Regions from separate parts of the Homo sapiens genome. Here all the other regions are linked to region 3. The links are contacts of gene promoters, found by promoter capture Hi-C in blood cells and fetal thymus (Javierre and others, 2016). All regions are on one chromosome and are shown on one strand. The core of a region is centred on a gene start or on the middle of the fragment in contact, and the rest is flanking DNA. Distances in the headings are between cores, read along the strand shown.

What was found. The method cuts DNA at HindIII sites, captures the fragments that hold promoters and counts their contacts. A CHiCAGO score of 5 or more calls a contact.
Region 1: a contact is called between a fragment that was not itself captured here and the fragment with the promoter of LRRC40 in region 3, in 1 of 17 cell types (non-activated CD4 T cells). The highest score is 6.4, in non-activated CD4 T cells.
Region 2: a contact is called between a fragment that was not itself captured here and the fragment with the promoter of LRRC40 in region 3, in 1 of 17 cell types (total CD8 T cells). The highest score is 7.0, in total CD8 T cells.

Annotation. Positions count from the first base shown.
Region 1 is chr1:93,871,734-93,876,162 of GRCh38, forward strand. It overlaps DNTTIP2 (deoxynucleotidyltransferase terminal interacting protein 2), which reads right to left. Exons shown (of 7, transcript NM_014597.5): 3 at 3,912-4,050; 4 at 1,386-1,481; 5 at 339-503. Among named protein-coding and RNA genes, the nearest start is that of DNTTIP2, 5.3 kb to the right of the region's middle. The HindIII fragment of the contact is 7,821 bases long and covers 1-4,429 here.
Region 2 is chr1:103,529,117-103,533,575 of GRCh38, forward strand. The region is part of intron 2 of RNPC3 (RNA binding region (RNP1, RRM) containing 3); the gene reads left to right. Among named protein-coding and RNA genes, the nearest start is that of RNPC3, 5.6 kb to the left of the region's middle. The HindIII fragment of the contact is 1,946 bases long and covers 756-2,701 here.
Region 3 is chr1:70,204,183-70,208,551 of GRCh38, forward strand. It overlaps LRRC40 (leucine rich repeat containing 40), which reads right to left and starts at 1,397. Exons shown (of 15, transcript NM_017768.5): 1 at 1,208-1,397. The coding sequence starts at 1,358. It also overlaps a transcript of SRSF11 not described here. RefSeq lists enhancers at 991-1,050, 1,311-1,620. The HindIII fragment of the contact is 8,465 bases long and covers 1-4,369 here.

The DNA of each region.
Region 1 (4,429 bases), core at 1,821-4,320, about 24 Mb after region 3:
GATTAGTACACGTGATACCCTTTTACCCCTATCCCGTATGGACTCTTGCTGTTAGGCTGATACTATTCATACATTCACATAGTGAACTTTATAGGTTCAACAGGTTTTAGCTGACCTGGAAACCATTTGTAACACCATCTCTCTAAATGTGATCAAATTAAAAGTTAGTGGCTGAATTGGGTAATGGCCATTCTTATATGGCCTATGCAGATATGTTCCATACATTAGGCATGCACAATGGAAATATCCTCTATTTTAGGAGTAAACTTTAAAGAACACTACAGTGCTTTCCAAACTAAAATTCACAGATCATCACCACTATTCTGTTTGCTTCATACCTGGAAGTACTTGGGGAAGCCATCTCTATCATTTTTCTTGTAAAATCTTTTCGGGTCCATGCTGGCTCTCATCTTCAGTGCTTTGAGATCATTTTTCAGTTCATTTGTCATTTCTGGAGCTTTCATACCAAACCAGCCATCCCCTGCTGTTTTTTGTCGTTCTTTCTGAAATTATGATTTCAAAAATAAACATTCTAACAGCTAAGAGTATACATTATAATTCATTTCCCCTGAAGTAACACATACAGAAAATTTTGTAAATTAAAAACAAATGGTTACTTTATTGAAAGCACTTAAATCCAGAATCATAGAGATAAAAGGAATTAAATCACAAAAAGTGACTTCTCCGCTAAATTAGGGACAGGATTATCAGTTTCATAAATGAGGGCTCCGTAAAATCTATTTTCTGTCTCAGAGAGTAACTGCTGACTTGCTGGGAGAATAACACACAACTTCAATTTTTATTGTCTAAAACAGACTATATGCAGTAAGAAAATGTATAAAAACACTTTCGTTTCTAGAGCTTATATGTAAACATTTTTATTCAGTCACCCAGGAGTCTCAGAATGCCACTCATACAAGGATCCAGAACCTTGTGTTATTTCTACAATAAAACAAAATACTATTCTTTAGAAAACTCCTACAAGTTATTTAATTTTGTTTCATTCATACAACAAGTATTTAGTTAGTGCCTACCATGTGCCAGGGTGCTCCATATTACAGTAACATTACTAGAATACCATCCTCAACTTTCCTTCAAGCTCTCTGGATAACTAGTCGAAATGGCAGATAGAAGTAATCTATATATATATATATTTTTTTAAAAAACCTCTACTTATAGATGCACTATTGTGGCTGCAAAGATGTGAAAATCTATACATAATGTGTTTATGGTACTATATTTTACAGCCCTTAGAAATCTGTAATTATTTTCTTTGGACTCATATATAGACCAACAGATACAGTTTAATTGTGCAGTTATGTTGTATAAGCTGAAAATATATAGCCAAACATATCTAAGCATTTTAATTAAGTCACTGTACTTACTCTGCGTTTTTTCTGAAGTTGATACTTTGATTCACTATATGGTGGAACACAGTGGTTTTTTTCAAAATCAGGTGTAATGACGGCTTTCTGCAGAAGCTATAAAAACATAAAATTGGTTTTAAAATAATGTCAGAATGTTATATAAGTTTTTCAACAGTTTAAACTTCTGTAAGTTTTAAAATTTTTAGTCAGCCTGGCAAAGTGGCTCACACCTATAATCCTAGTGCTTTGAGGAGGCCAAGGGAGGAGGATCACTTGAGGCCAGGAGTTTTAGACCACCTTGGTCAACATAGCAAGACCCTGACTGTAAAAAAAAAAAAAAAAAGAAAAGAAATTAGTTGGGCATGGTGGCACACACCTGTAGTCCCAGCTACTCAGGACGCTAAGGCAGAAGGATCACTTGAGGCCAGGAGCTTGAGGCTGCAGCAAGCTATGACTGTGCCACTCACTCCAGCCTGGGTGACAGAGTGAGACCCTGTCTCCCCCCAAACCCAGCTCCCTCCCAAAAAAAAAAAGAAAAAAGAAAAAAAAGGCCAGGCACGATGGCTCATGCCTATAATCCCAACTCTTTAGGAGGCCAAGGCAGGACAATCACTTGAGGCCAGGAGTTCAAGACTAGCCTGGGTAACATAAGAAAACGCCATTTCTCCAAAATAAATAAATAAATTTGTGCAGTCAAATCTGTTTATCTTTTCCTAAATGATTTCTGTACTTTTGTTACTTGACTAGGATGATTATATTCTCCTAAAACTCTGTGTGACTAAAGGAACCTCAGGTTAATTAGTATTTTTCTCAGTACAAGAACCAAGTAAGACTGCTCTGTAGCCCTCAAAATAGTTTACAGGAATATAGTACAAGCATTAATTTGGGACTGACATTTGAAATGATCAACTCAGAAATTAACAGTCAGGCACACAATTCAGGTTCAGGCCTAGATGTTTCTGTGTGGTATAGGTAGCCGTCTAGGCTTTCCTATCACTCATAAAAGGGGGCATGATATTTACTTAACAAATGATTAAGAGTTTGCTGTGAGTCAAGTACTGTAGTACATTCAAGGACAGTGGTTCTCAACTGGGAGCATCTGGCAATGTCTGGAGACATTTTTGGTGGTGGTGAGGATAAGGAAGAATGCTACTGACATCTAGTGGGCAAAAGATAGGGATGCTGTTAAACATCCTACTATGCACGGAACATCTCACAACAAAATTATGCAGCCCAAAACATCAGTAGTGCTGAGACTGAAAAACCCTGTTTTAGGAATATAAAGAAAAGATGGTAAGTTAATATATCACATGATCAACAATGAATCAGATCTATGCTAGATGTTATGGAAACAGAGGGGTTGTGAGAAGGACTGGAGGTAAAATATTCCCCAAGGGCAACGATCAATTATTTTGCACTTGCTTGGGGAAAAGCAGGGTAAGTTCAGGCAACTACAGTAGTCTTCAGTGGCAAGAATAGAGCAGATGACAGCTGGGTGGGGTAGAGAGGTACTTTGAAGGATTCAAGAGAATACTGTCACATCTGTGTGTGTGGTGTGTTTTTTGGGGCAGGGAGGAGAGATGTGGTCTAGCTATGTTGCCCAGGTTGGTCTCAAACTCCTGGGCTTAAACAATTCTCCTGCCTCAGCCTCCCAAAGTGCTGGGATTATAGATGTGAGCTACCTTGCCCAGCCGGATTTGTGTTTTTAGACAGAGAAATCTAGAAGTGTGGAGGATGGCTTGAAGAACAAGATGAAAACAAGATCAATAAGGAAGCCACTGGAGTAGTCCAGATGAGAAGCAAAGGCCTGCACTAGCTGGTGACAGTCGCTTGAAAAGGAGGAAGCAGAGAAATATCTTCCCCTAGAGGCTTGGTGACTGACTACAAAAGGAAAAGAGAGTTTGGTTTCATTAGCCAGAAAAAAGAATACAAGAAGAGGATTCCTGGTTCAGGCAGGGAAAGGGGAATTAGTGACGTCAAGTACCTGAGGACATCTAAATGAACAAATAGGTACTTGGATTTAAAGGTCTGAAAGTGACAGTGAGAAGCATCAAGGCTAGAAAATATAGATTTAGGAGAAAACAGTGCAAGGTGTTGGCTAAAGCTAAGGGTTTGGGTAAAGTTACCTTAACAGTAATTCCTTCTGAAATTATATGTAAAATGTCTATATGCACATGTGCATTTTTTTCCGGGTGGAAGAGGCAGGCAGGCATTCACAGCTTTCAGATTCTCAACAGTCTACACTAGTTAAGAACTTAAGAACTAAAAGTATAGCAAGAAAAGGGAAAAAAACAAAACCCCTGGGATCATAATTGGTGGGTGTAAGATGAGGAACACTGACCCTGTATTGATTTATTTTTAAAGCATTATCATTCATAGATAGGATTTTATTGTAAAAAGAAATGACTGTTTTAGAGAGAAGGAAAAAACTAACACATTAGGCCAATGTGGTTTCACTGTAGGAAAATTAAGTCTTTTACCAAGGACTAATTTCTAAAAGTGATTGGTTAGTTCTGTGAAAACCTAACAGCACAATTAACTTACCTCATTTTTCTTTTTCTCCTTGATCTGTGTTAGGGTTCTCTTGTTAGACTGTAGTTTATCTGCATTAAAATTAATATACAAACCACCCAACTGCTTGATACTCAGACCAGGGTCTATGCTGCTGCTTGTCAACTTCAGACTGAAAAAGAAATCATCACTTAAAGATCAAGTAATTAAATCAAAATGGAAACATATAAGATGGCATTTTAAAAAATCACTTATTCTTCTCTTCCCTTGTATTGTCCACAATAAAGAAAAAAAAGCATCTTATTTTTATGAGGAATTCCTGAAAAAAAACTCTAAATAAATATATTTTTCATCATTTTATTTTATTTTTTGAGACAGGGTCTCACTGTTGGCCCAGGATGGAGTGCAGTAGTGACCACTGCAGCCTTGAACTCTTGGGACTCAAGTGATCCTCCTACCTCAACCTCCCTGGGTGGCTGGGACTACAGGTGCACACCCAACACCTGGCTCCATAATGTCAAATGAATGAGCCATTCCATGAAGAACCCAAG
Region 2 (4,459 bases), core at 479-2,978, about 33 Mb after region 3:
CTAATAGTATACATGTTAGCATATACACAGAAAAAATATGGCAGAACTATACACCAAAATGTTAAAAACATCTTTCTCTGAGAGTAGGATTACAGAGGGCTTTCATATTATATTAATATGTACTTTTATAATGGTAGGTAATTTTTTTTCAGAAAAAAAGTATTTTTAAAAATATATCATAATACATTGTAAATAAAGTATGGTAATGAAAAACGCATTGTTTTAGGGTCAAGAATAACTTGGAGGAGAGGACATGGAGCCAGTCATTGTCTTTGGAAATGTCTGTAGTGAAAGGAAGCAGTAAGAGGTTAACGGCAATATTGATAGGGCTTTTAGGCTAGAGAGCATTTGGCCTAATTGGAAAGTGATAGATTAAGAAAACAAAGGGAGAAATGTTCAAGAATAGAGTAAGTAGCCGAGTCAGGTAGGAGGAGTTAACATTAAAAATGAAAAACCATAAATCTTTGAAAATAAGAACATATGTGATACCCATTTGAGAAGAAGAAAGTTGGAGTAAGTCAGGTTAGATGACCTTCATTTCAGATAATCAAGGCTTCACTGATAATAAAGAGGTCTAAAGTTCATTTAGGGTCTTGAAAATTATTGAAACATTTTAAAATTAACTTTGTATGATGATGTAAGGCAGGGATCCTCAAACCCTGGGACACAGACTGGTACCCAGCCACGGCCTGGTACCTAACCACCACCTGTTAGAACCTGGGCCGCACAGCAGGAGGTGACTGGCAGGCTGAGGAAGCTTTATCTCTATTCAGGGCGACTCCGCCTGGCTGCCTGAGCTCCACCTCCAGTCAGATCAGCAGTGCCTTGGCCCCTGTTGTGAACTGCACATGCAAGGGATCTAGGTTGCGCTCTCAATGAGAATCTGACTAATGCCTTATGATCCGAGATGAATCAGTTTCATCTCGAAACCATCTTCTCCCCACCCCCCACCCCAGCCTGTGGAAAAATTGTCTTGCACAAAACCGGTCTCTGGTTAAGGCTTGTACTTTCATGTGTTCAAAAATATTAAGTACCTACTATGTGCTAGATGCTGATTTAGGTTTTGGGATTATATGTGAAGACAAAGATGATTATAGTTCATATTCTCAAAAGGGGAGACAGACAATAAATAATAAACTTTAATATTTTAGAAGATGATAAATGCTATGGAAAAAGGACAAGTAGAGCAATAAGATCAGGAGTGCTAAGTGGGGAGAGGTCAGGCTGTAGTTAGGGTTATATTTGAACAACAATTTGAAGGATGCGAAGGGAGTTAGCTAATGAAATTTCTGGGAGAAGTACCTTTGAATTAGAGGAACAGCTGGAACAGGGGCTCTAGGATGTGACCATGCCTGTCACGTTGTTCAAGGAAGCCACTGTGACTGGAGCAGACATAGTGGGAGTGATCTGTGGGAGCAGGAGTGGGAGTGATCATTGGATTTGAAGTCAGAGAAGTCATAGAATCTATATTATGTAGATTATAGTAAGGAACTTAGATTGCTGTCAGTAAAATAGGGAGCCATTGGAGCAAGGGGGTGACCTTGGTATTTCAAAGAATTGCTTTTGCTGTTGTGACTAGACTGAAGGGAGGGAAAGGTAGAAACAGGGAAATCCGTTAAAATATTGTGGTAATTCAGTCCAGAATTGATGGTTGCCTTGACCACAATGGTAGTGGTTAGCGGTGATTAGATTCTTTATATATTTTGAAGGTAGAAGCAAGGATTTCTTACTGTATTTATTCCAGTAGGTTTTGGGGGAACAGGTGGTGTTTAGTTACATGAATAAGTTCTTTAGTCGTGATTTCTGAGATTTTGATGTACCTGTCACCCAAGCAATATACACTGTGCCCATTGTGAAGTCTTTTATCCCTCACCCCCACTCCCAACACTTTCTCCTGAGTCCTCAAAGTCCATTGTATCATTCTTATGCCTTTGGGTCCTCATAGCTTAGCTCCTACTTAGGAGTGAGAACATACGATGTTTGGTTTTTGATTCCTGAGTTACTTCACTTAGAATAATGGTCTCCCATTCCATCTAGGTTGCTGCAAATGCCATTATTTTGTTCCTTTTTATGACTGAGTAGTATTCCATGTTATATATATATATACCATAATTTCTTTATCCACTCATTGATTGATGGGCATTTGGGCTGGTTCCGTATTTTTGCAATTGCAAATTGTGCTGCTATAAACGTGCATGTGCAACTGTCTTTTTTGTATAATGACTTATTGTCCTCTGGGTAGATACTCAGTAGTGGGATTGCTGGATGAAATGGTAGGTCTACTTTTAGTTCTTTAAGGAATCTCCACACTATTTTTCATACTTACTGTACTAGTTTACATTACCACCAGCAGTGTGAAAGTCACTTTCACCACATATTCTGCCAACATCTATTATGTTTTGATTTTTTCATTATGACCATTATTGCAGGAGTAAGGAGGTATTGCCTCATGATTTTGGTTTGCATTTCCATGATCATTAGTGATGTTGAGCAGTTTTTCATGTTTGTTGGCCATTTGTGTATCTTATTTTGAGAATTGTCTATTCATGTCCTTAGCCCATGGGATTGTTTTTTTTCTTGCTGATTTGTTTGGATTCCTTGTAGATTCTGGACATTAGTGGTTTTTTTGGATGTATAGATTGCAAATATTTTCTCCCGCTATGGGTTGTCTGTTTGTTGATTGTTTCTTTTGCTGTGCAGAAGCTTTTTAGTTTAATTAAGTCCCATCTATTTATCTTTGTTTTTGTTGCATTTGCTTTTGGGTTCTTGGTCATGACGTCTTTGCCTAAGCCAATGTCTAGAAGGGTTTTTCTGATGTTATCTTCTAGAATTTTTATGGTTTCAGGTCTTAGATTTAAGTCCTTGATCCATCTTGAGTTGATTTTTGTATAAGGTGAGAGATGAGGATCCAGTTTCATTCTTCTACATGCGACTTGCCAATTATCCCAGCACCATTTGTTGAATAAGGTGTCTTTTCCCTACTTTATGTTTTTGTTTGCTTTCTGGAAGATCAGTTTCCTGTAAGTATTTGGGTTTATTTCTGTGTTCTCTATTCTGTTCCATTGGTCTATGTGCCTATTTTTATACCAGTACCATGCTGTTTTGATGACTATGGCCTTATGGTATAGGCAAACAGGATTTCTTAATGACTTGGATATGGAATGTAGGAAAGAAGCATTAAGGATGATTACAAGATTTTTGACCTGAATAATTGGAAGAATGGAGTTGCTATCAACTGAAATAGAGATGGCTCCTGGTGGAGCACATTTGGGGCTGGGGGAAAGATTAAGTGAAATGTTGAATTTGAAATGTTTGTTAGATATCTATGGGGCGCTATCCATTATTTGAATATGTGTTCCTTGACTTCAGGACAGAAGTCTGTGCTGAAATTATAAATTAGTGAATCATTAGCATACAGATTTAAAGTTCGGATGCTGGATTAAATCACCAACATAATATGTTGAGAGAGAGAGGAAGACCAGGACAAGAGCTCTGGAGCATTCTAACATTAAGAACGTGAGAGAAGGCACAAGTCAAAGAGATGGAGGAGTACAAACCAGCGAGCTAGGAAGAAAACTAAGAATGTATGAAGTCTTGAAGCCAAGTGAATGACATGTATCCAGGAAGGAGTGATTAACTATGTTAAATGCAACCAAGTGAAGACTAGGAGTTGATCATTAGCCCAACAATGCAAAATTTGTTGTCTATGATAAGCAGTCTCAGTAAACTTATTAAAGCATTAACCTGATTGAAATAGGTTTGAAACTGAATAGGCAGAGAGGAGTTGTAGATAGAGGGTTTAGATAGCTTGTACAGAGTTTTACTGCAAAACTAATAATACAAATTTAGGATGGGAGAAATAGGAGCATGTTTTCATACTGATACGGATAATCCAATAGAGGACAGTAAATTAACAGTATAAATAAGATCACCCTCCACACCCCTCACCACACACAATTCCAGAGCATAGCTAAGTAAAGACCCTTGAGGAGATGAGAGGATGGAATTTAGTATATAAGTTAAGCAGCTGGATTTAGATAGGCATGTGGATAGTTAATAGATGATAACAGATAGCATGCATATGCTGGTAGATGGGGGGTTATAGTGGGAGTCTGATATTCTCATGTCATCAATTCTGTTGTCTCAAAGTAGAAAACAAGGTGCTAAGCTAACGGAATACAAGAAAAATATTGTGAGGTTAAGGAACAAGGAGAAAGTACAAAATACTCTCTGAGATATAGGTGGAAAAAATAGACTAAGATTGTAATAAGTAATTTTGTGGCATAATTAAAAATCACCCTGAGATTTGTGGTAGTTTTTATAAATTGAAAGTGAGGCCAGGGAAATTTGTTAGTTTGTTTTCTAGCCATTTTCAGCTGCCTGGGTATAAGCAGAGCTGGCATAAAGTGGGATTTAGCTAGATTTTTATTTTCCTAAGTTATAGGAAGTAGTCCTTTAA
Region 3 (4,369 bases), core at 147-2,646:
TTCACTTACTTATTGCTTCCGCAAAATTTAATAAGACTCTACTATGTACCAAGCACTATTTTCAGTGATAGAAATACAACAAAGCACAAAACAAAGCTCACTGACTTCATGATATTAACCTTTTGGTTGGAGGGCAGAGAAAACAAAAAACATAAATGATATAAATTCTGATAGTGATAAATGCTGTTAAAAAATTAAACAGGTAAGAGAACAGAATGTTAGCATGATAGGTATGCAAGTTTAGAGAAAAATGTTTCAGGTTTTGGGGAAACCAAGTAGATATATATATATGCACAACTGTAGTTTGAAAATGAGTATGTTCCCATTGATCAAAAACTCTTTTAGGTGGAGTAAGGATTCTGTGTCTTTTCATTCATTCAGAAGCATTTGCTTGCCTAATCTACTTTATACATGTCACAATAAGAAAGCAATCATTAGAAGGAAAATGGAAGGTTTTAATCAGTCTTAAAACCTAAATATAAATGAAGAAAAACATTACAGGAAAAATGCTCTATTTCTCCATCTCTCCATTCCCCTCCCTCTCTCTCTTACACACACACACACACACACACACACACGACAATCAGAAGAGCATCTGGCCATTCATTCATGGTACCCAGATTTGTGCTTCTTGGTCTTTAACAGGTTTCTCAGGATGTCCCCACATTCAAACACTCTGTGTGGCATCTATCCTGATCTTCAACTTAGAAAATATACTCATTATTCCTTGTAAGTAGAACTCTGCACAGCTGCATACAGAAGAGCGTCTCGGCAGGGAACAGTGCAGGTTCACAAAGGGGCCGATAAAACATATAATTTTAGCTTTGGTAATTGCCCTTGAAGATTACAATAAGAGGAGGAAAATAAGGGCCAAAGAAACAAAAGATTTGCCCGTGATTTGATAGCTGGTTTCGTCACATATTATGTTGCTTATCCCACAGAATGTGGGAATCCCAGAAAGCGCCCCGTTTAAATTTAGACCGTATTTTTAGCAGGGTCCCTTTAACAGAGATTGCGGGAACCTGGGAAGGAACTGAACTGGGCTAACCAAACCGGTCGAAATGAGCACAGGGATTAGATTAGAGCACAGAAATTCTGGCTAGCAGTCTGAGAAAGGGGGCCAAAGCCAGCCCAGAGAAAAGGGAGGTTGCCTGGGCCAAAGGCTTTCTGACAGGAGACACAATAGGGTCGTACCTCTGGGTCTTACCTTCACTGAGGTTTCTACCCGACAGGTTTAACTGGCCGCTCTTCCTCGCTGCCTTCAACAGCCCTTGGGGTACCGAGGTACCGCAGTCTCTTCCACCTGCTTTGAAACCAGCGCGGAGATCCTGCCCCGCTATCCGCTTCAGGCGCGACATGTTCAAAGTCCTAGGTCCAGAAGCTGCAGCCCCACCCGTGACGCTTAAAGGTGGCGCCGTTGGGATGCCCCGCTCCTTTCGTGAGCGCGCGCTCTGGGCGCTGGGCTCGCGGCCTCGCGCTGGGCCTTCACTCTCTGCGGCGCAGTCCAGATGTCGTCAGCACCAGCGCCTGGGCTGGAGGACAGAGAAGCCTTTTCCGTTGCCGGTGCCGGCCTAGCGTCCTGGAATTACTTCAATCAAGTAAGTGCGTTTAACGGGCTTAAGAGGGGCTTTCGGGTTTATTGTTTGCACTGTTACTGCGACTCCAACCTTCTCCTCTGTGCTTCCACCGTGGCGAGGGTGTGGGGAAAGAGAACCCTCTCTTCTCCCCTCTCCTAGTCTGAACGTGGGCCTTGACTAAAACTTGAGATCTGGGCGCGGTCGGCAGCGTTTCTGGACCCCAGCCTGTGTTTGTCGCTTGTGGTGGTGGCGCCAGACCTCTGGCGTACGGAGTAAAAGAAATTTTCTGTTCTTAAGGCTTGTACTCTGACACCATTCTCGTTGTATTGAGGGTATATAGCTTACCCAGCAAAGGAGGTAATGTGAAATGGAAGGACTGGCAACATAGAAGACAAAAACAAAAATCCTTAAAATTTAATAAATGTTCTGTGTATCAGACAGTTTAGGGAGACAAGTAGTGGTACATGCTTTAGTGAAGCTCAGACAGCTTGGATTTTTGAGCCCTAAAAAGCAAGTTCAAATCTCAGCTGCTTCTTTACTTTAGAAACTGTTAACTTTAGGCAGTTTACTCAACCGCTTTTAAAGCTCATTCCTTTTTTTCATTACTTTGGGGATAATTCCTACCGCATAAGGTTTTTGAAATAAGTGAAGATAAAAACTAGAATCTTGAGCTCTCGGTGAGTCCAGAATAATAGCAAATGAAAATTTTGTTCAATGTAAGTCGGTGTTTCCTAGGAAATTAAAATTTTCATCTGAAATGTACAACTTCTTGATTCAACAAGTAATTATTAAGATTAATCCTGCCTAGTATGTGTACTATCCTGGGTGCTAGACTTTTCTTTTGCCTGAAATGATTTTGTTTTAAAAGCATATGCCAGGGAATACCATTCTAACCCCCATCAAGTCTACTGAGGATTGGTAGAATAGTTGAAAGCTAGGATGAAGGCCCTTTGATCAATTCTTCATCACGCACTTTTACCTGAGTCCAGGTTATTGCTACCTGTAAAATTCGGTTTTTAACTCTACCCTTTTTGTTCTTATTTCTGTGGAGTCCTTTACACTAATATCGAACAAGAGAAAGTTACCAATAGTTGTTACCCTACTAAAAAAGCAAAGAGTGGATTTTTGTCTTTTTTTTTTTTTTTTTTTTGAGACAAAGTCTGGTCTGTCGCCTAGGCTGGAATGCAGTGGCGTGATCCCGGCTCACTGCAACCTCCGCCTCCCAGGTTCAAGTGATTCTCCTGCCTCAGCCTCTCCAGTAGCTGGGATTATAGCCGCGCACCACCACACCTGGCTAATTTTTATATTTTTTAGTAGAGACGGAGTTTCGCCATGTTGGTCAGGCTGGTCTCGAACTCCCAGCCTCAAGCGATCCGCCCAGTTCGGCCTCCCAAAGTGCTGGGATTACAGGTGTCAGTCGCCGTGCCCAGCCTGAGTTTTAAAGGAAAACGACCGTAGCAGCTTTTGCAACGTTATTAATGAGGTCCCTGGTCAGCTTGTCTTCACAGTAATGGTAATAGCTGCCTTATTGGGCCCATACCAGGCTCAGTGCTAATAATACCTCTGTTTGCTATTTCTTATTTAACACAGTGACTAATTTTGCAGATAAGGAAATTGAGGCTAAAAGGGGTGAAGAAACTTACCCAACCTCACAAGTTTCTCTGAATAGCACGACCAGGAATTTGAACCTAGATCTGTCTCCAAAACCTTTCTTTTTAATCACCATGACTTCCCTAGTGGCTTTTCATAATTCCCAACTTGCTTTTTTTTTTAATCCTGTAATCATTGTAAGAGACACTTCAGTTGTTTTTAAGAAGATTTCTTTATTAAAGAACCACCTTTTTCTCTTTATAGTAACAACCTACCTTTGGGGAAGAAACAACCCACCTTTGGAGAATTGAATTGCTCGAGTACAAAATTTTACAGTAACCACCCCTCCCCCTACAATAGATTCTTCTTTCGTTCTTTTTTTTTTTTTTTTTAAGAGACCAGGTCTCACTCTGTCACCCATGATGAAGTACAGTGGTGCGATCACAGCTCACTGCAACCTCGAAATCCTGGGCTCAAACAGTCCTCCCACCTCAGCTTCCTGAGTAGCCATCACACCACCATGCCCAGCTAATTGTTTTTATTTTTTGTAGAAACGAGTCTGTGTTGCCAAGGCTGGTCTTGAACTCCTGGCCTCAAGCTATCCTTCCATCTAGGGCCTTCCATAGCACTGGGATTACAGGCATGAGCCACCTCAAGCAATCCTTCTATCTGGGGCCTTCCAAAGCACTGGGATTATAGGCATGAGCCACCACACCCTGCCTAGTTCAATTTATTAAAAAATAACAGCAAGGTATAATTTTTAAATTTGTTGTTCTTGAAGTTAAATATTTCATTATTGACATTTAATGATACTGTATTAAAACATTGTTTCATCTTGTATAAGGAAAGTATCTTCTGTTTAATGGCAAAGAGTAATTCTGAAAAAAAATCCCAGTGGCCATATGCTTGTGGTAAACTCCAATAGATATAAACTGACATATATAAGAATGTACTAGTTACTGTAATACAGTGTATGGTGTGTGTGTGTGTGTGTGTGTGAGTGAGATGGAGTCTCGCACTGTCACCCAGCCTAGAGTGCAATGGCTCAACCTTGGTCACTGCAACCTCCACCTCCCAGCTTCAAGTGATTTCTCCTGCCTCAGCCTCCCAAGAAGCTGGCATTACAGGTACGCACCACCACACCCAGCTAATTTTTTTGTATTTTTTTAGCAGAGGCAGGGTTTCGCCATGTTGGCCAGATT